Linked DNA regions of Homo sapiens: region 1 is linked to region 2. Evidence: promoter capture Hi-C in human tissues and cell types (Jung and others, 2019). All regions are on one chromosome and are shown on one strand. The core of a region is centred on a gene start or on the middle of the fragment in contact, and the rest is flanking DNA. Distances in the headings are between cores, read along the strand shown.

What was found. Contacts are between HindIII fragments. The study calls those that stand out against the background at their distance.
Region 1: a fragment that was not itself captured here is called in contact with the fragment with the promoter of NPTX2 in region 2 in 2 of the 25 tissues and cell types used here (H1 embryonic stem cells and heart left ventricle).

The regions. Positions count from the first base shown.
Region 1 is chr7:98,715,122-98,717,821 of GRCh38, forward strand. No RefSeq gene overlaps it. Among named protein-coding and RNA genes, the nearest start is that of NPTX2, 99 kb to the left of the region's middle. The HindIII fragment of the contact is 6,496 bases long and covers 1-2,700 here.
Region 2 is chr7:98,615,953-98,618,652 of GRCh38, forward strand. It overlaps NPTX2 (neuronal pentraxin 2), which reads left to right and starts at 1,333. Exons shown (of 5, transcript NM_002523.3): 1 at 1,333-1,935. The coding sequence starts at 1,510. RefSeq lists an enhancer at 2,161-2,700. The HindIII fragment of the contact is 8,881 bases long and covers 1-2,700 here.

The sequences.
Region 1 (2,700 bases), core at 178-2,677, 99 kb after region 2:
AACTGCTGGGATCACAGGTGTAAGCCACCATGCCTGGCCAAAAGCCTGCCTTGTTTTAGAGAGGAAAATCTGAGTATCGATAAAGAATAACAATTGCAATGGCTTGAAACAACTCATGATTTTGAAAACTGGTTTGTAAAGAAAAAAAAAAAGGGACAGACTGTGAGATGGAACATTCATCCTGCCTTTTTTGAATAAATGTTGGGAGCATTCTCTCTTTGCAGAATTCTTTCAGCTCATAAACACAGGAGAAATCACAGATTTAGGGTGTCATCATATTGCAAATTCAGCAGTGATATGATCTAAGAAAGGGACCATCAGACATAATATGTCCCCAAGGGAGGACACACCATCATCCATGAAGTGGTCTTGCCGAAAACCCCGCCTGAACCTGACAGGTCTTCAGACTTTCCCGATTAGATTAAATGCAGAGAAATGCAAATCAAAACCACAATGAGATACCATCTCACACCAGTTAGAATGGCGATCATTAAAAAATCTGGAAACAACAGGTGCTGGAGAGGATGTGGAGAAATAGGAACACTTTTACACTGTTGGTGGGACTGTAAACTAGTTCAACCATTGTGGAAGTCGGTGTGGCAATTCCTCAGGGATCTAGAACTAGAAATACCATTTGACCCAGCCATCCCATTACTGGGTATATACCCAAAGGACTATAAATCATGCTGCTATAAAGACACATGCACACGTATGTTTATTGCGGCACTATTCACAATAGCAAAGACTTGGAACCAGCCCAGATGTCCAACAATGATAGACTGGATTAAGAAAATGTGGCACATATACACCATGGAATACTATGCAGCCATAAAAAATGATGAGTTCATGTCCTTTGTAGGGACATGGATGAAGCTGGAAACCATCATTTCAGCAAACTATCGCAAGAAGAAAAAACCAAACACTGCATGTTCTCACTCATAGGTGGGAATTGAACAATGAGAACACGTGGACACAGGAAGGGGAACATCACACACTGGGGACTGTTGTGGGGTGGGGGGAGGGGGAGGGATAGCATTAGGAGATATACCTAATGTAAATGACGAGTTGATGGGTGCAGCACACCAACATGGCACATGTATATATATATGTTACAAACCTGCATGTTGTGCACATGTACCCTAAAACTTAAAGTTTTATATATATATATAAAAATTATATATTATATATAAATATATAAATATAAATATATATATATAAATATAAAAGATGAAATGCAGAGGACAGAGAAATACATTTCAGGACATCTCAGGGCTGCAAGCAGCAAAATCCAGGCAGTGGGAAACCCAACAGAATCAACAACCTAGTTTCTTTGATGAATAAATCACAAACGGAGTGGGAAAAATAAAGACGGAGAGTGCGGGAGGGAAAATCTCCCAGAATAAAAGAGACATAGGTATGATCCAATTGCAATGTGTGGACTTTATTTGGATTCAAAGTGTAAAAAAATATAAAAATATGTACAATTATAAGACAATTGGGGAAGTGGGGAAATTAGAACAGAGGATATTTGAAGAGATCAAGGGCTTAGAGCTCATTTTTTAGGTGTGATAATAAAATAGTGGTTATGTGGGGTTTTTTTGGAAAAACATGTCCTTATCTTTTAAAGATATTCACTGAAATGCTTACAGATGAAAGATGATGTCTAGGATTTACTTTTGTCATCAGAGAGACCAAAATAGATGCCTCTGGATTAACTTAGATGGACTCTAACAAAACTCAATTACCTACAGGTCAAGCGTTCAGGGCCTGGCTGACATGGCAAATTTCTAAATTCCTATAGCTGCAAGAAAAACCACACTTGCTAAACTTCCTGACAATAGGAGCTATCAGACCCCTTCTAACTCTTTTTATGTTTTTTATTTATTTTATTTTTTGAGATGGAGTCTCATTCTGTTGCCCAGGCTGGAGTGCAGTGGCACGATCTCGGCTCACTTCAACCTCTGCCTCCTGGGTTCTGCCTCCTGGGTTCAAGCGATTCCCTTCCTCAGCCTCCCGAGTAGCTGGGACTACAGGTGTGCACAACCACACCTGGCTAATTTTTGTATGTTTAGTAGAGACAGGGTTTCACCATGTTGGCCAGGCTGGTCTCAAACTCCTGACCTCAGGTGATCCGTCCATCTCAGCCTCCCAAAGTGCTGGAATTAGAGGCATAAGCCACTGCACTCGGCCTTTTTTTGTTTTATTTTTTTGTAAAGACAAAGTCTTGCTATGTTGTCCAGGCTGTTCACAGACTCCTGAGTTCAAGCAGTCCTCCCACCTCAGCCTCCCAAAGTGCTGAGATTACAGACGTGAACCACTGTGCCCAGCCTACCTCTGATTTACAACTCAGACCACTGCAATTCTGATTGGACAAAGGACCAGCCTTAACAAACATACTTTCCTAATAAGCAACTGCAGAACTTAAGCCAGTTTCAGCGCTCATAGAGATTGCTCACAAATTTTCTTTGAGTCCCATAGTTTACCTACTGCTGTAAAAAGCCAAATGCCACCTCAATTTAATGCCAAAACCCTGCCCCAAAGTGAGCACCGGATGTATGTGACATATATGCTTACCCAATGTCCATGCATTCAGCTCCTCTCATAAATATGTGTAGCTTCCCCCACAAACCTCCTGAATATGCATGACTCTATTGTCTAATGAGGAACCTATGAGGCATAAATCCCAACCTGTCCTTTCAC
Region 2 (2,700 bases), core at 83-2,582:
GCTATTGTTTGAAGTGCAAAGCAGGTCAGAATTTGGTTTCTAGAGATTAATCACTGCAGTCTAGTTTATATTATCATAATAATTTCATTTATTTTGGTACAATTTGCTTTCAGAATCAACCTCGGCTTCTGCGCACAAGTGACAAATCCATTTGTTTGTGGTATAATGGATAACGTGATTAATGACCTTGCAACAGGATTTCTTAAAAACATAGAGAGGAAAAGAAATAAAGATTTCCATTTATAAATGTGCAGTAAACCAGCTCAGTCTGTAGCTGTGCACCAAAATCCCTCTGAACTTGTTTTAAGCCACAGATTTGGAGAGATTCTGAAACAAATTTGCTCCTGACTTTTGGGGGTTTCTGCTCATATCTGCTGTCTCCAAGAAGCTGAGGGCAGTGGCCTCACTTCGAGGAAGTGGTGACACTGCGGGCCCTCCTGGTTACAAGGACCGGGCACTGTTGGACCACGTGGCTCCATCATGATGACTCCAGTTAGATGTCACCCCGCCCCTGAGCTCAGGTCTTGCTGAATAAGGTCACCGCCCAGGGGGCAGTCGATGAACACGCGCGCGAGGGCTCTGCGAGTGGCCTCGTGACTTTGTCCCTAACTCCGGGTGTCCCCTCCTTCCCATCAGCGTCCGGCGCCTGGTCCTGGTCCCGGTCCCCGAGGCCCCCGGGATTCTTCCCGAGCGTTTTCCGAGTTGGCGCGGGGGGTGGAGGCGGGGCCATGGAGCGCGTCCCGGGGACCGTTGCATCCGGAGGCGGCCGTCGTGCGGCTCCTTCCCGCCTCGAGAGTGAGGTGGCCGGGCCTTGACGAGAAGGCCCACGCCTGCCGCGGGGGTGGCTCGCGATGGCAGTCGGGGTTCGAGTCCCGCCTGGGGGGCTGCTCCTGCTGGAGAAAACGCCTCCCTGAGGGCGGCGGCAAACGCGCAGCGAGGCCCCGTGCCGCGCCAGAAGCCACCCTGAGAAAGGGGCACCGGGACACCGAGGGGTTCCCACTTTCTCCTCAGCCTGTGACGCCCGCGTCCTCGGGTGGGTTCGAGGGGCGCCTGGGCACGGCCAGCCGAGGCTCTCGAGAGCCCCAGTGTCGTTTTCCACCTCAGGCCTCCTTTCCTGAGGCAGAGCCCGGGACCTCGCGCTCTCGCCTCAGGCTCCGGCCCACGCTCCCGCCCGGCCGCCAGGCGCGCAACGGAAAGCGCCCCCGCCCCGCCCCGCTCCGCCCACTGCGTGACGCGCACCCGGCCGAGCCAATCAGAGCTCGTGGCGCGCGCCCCACACGCCGGCCCCCTCCGCCCCTCAGCTTAAGAAAGGGCGCGCGGACCCGGCAGGCCAGAGTGCCGAGCAGCGCGGTGGGTGCGGCTGTGAGACGGCAGGAGACTTCTGCCCCGCGGTGCACGCGACCCTCGAGACGACAGCGCGGCTACTGCCAGCAGCGAAGGCGCCTCCCGCGGAGCGCCCCGACGGCGCCCGCTCGCCCATGCCGAGCTGAGCGCGGCAGCGGCGGCGGGATGCTGGCGCTGCTGGCCGCCAGCGTGGCGCTCGCCGTGGCCGCTGGGGCCCAGGACAGCCCGGCGCCCGGTAGCCGCTTCGTGTGCACGGCACTGCCCCCAGAGGCGGTGCACGCCGGCTGCCCGCTGCCCGCGATGCCCATGCAGGGCGGCGCGCAGAGTCCCGAGGAGGAGCTGAGGGCCGCGGTGCTGCAGCTGCGCGAGACCGTCGTGCAGCAGAAGGAGACGCTGGGCGCGCAGCGCGAGGCCATCCGCGAGCTCACGGGCAAGCTAGCGCGCTGCGAGGGGCTGGCGGGCGGCAAGGCGCGCGGCGCGGGGGCCACGGGCAAGGACACTATGGGCGACCTGCCGCGGGACCCCGGCCACGTCGTGGAGCAGCTCAGCCGCTCGCTGCAGACCCTCAAGGACCGCCTGGAGAGCCTCGAGGTAGCGGCCCGCGGGGAGCGCGGGGGACCTGGAATGGGGACGCTCCCGAGTCGGGGGCGGAAGACTCGGGAGGATGGGGAAAGGGGGCCTGGCCCTGGGGAGGGTGTGATCGTCCGTGGGGGTGAGCTGGACTTGAGGGTGAAAGGCGGGGATCTAGATCCTGCTCGGGAACTCCCCTGCGTGGTATCCCTTCCCACACCGCTGCTCTTGCTGGAAGGAAACGTTTAAATTCCACCCCCGCGCGTCGGGACTGCCAGCGGGATCCGCCGAGCACTTCCCGAGGTCCGGGCTAGCGAACCCAGACGGCCAAGCCGCGGGCGCCAAATACCCGGGGACGCGGTAGCCTCTATCCTCTTGCAAATCTCCAAATCTCCGCGAGCCGGGATGCGCTCCCGCAGGCCGTGCGGGTTGCTGCGAGGCTGCCGCGGGAGGTCAGCTGCCCCGGGCATGTGGTGTTTCTTTCTTTAAATCAGGTCAGGCTGAGCTAGAGGGGGCGGAAGTCTGGGGGCGGAGGTCGCAGGGAGGCGAGCGCAGGGGGTCACCGGCGACCCCAGAGCGCGCATTAGAGGGGCAACCTCTGGTTAACTTCAAAGACTCCCGTGTCTGCAAGTTGGACCATTTTAAGGTGCTCTTCCGGATTGCTTCAGGGGAAGGGACCTCATTCCCTTCTCTCTCTCTCTCTCCCCCCCTCCCCCCCTCCCCCTCCGTCCCCCCCCCCCGCCCCCCGCTCCCGCCTCCGTCTCATCTCTATCTCTGAAAATGCGT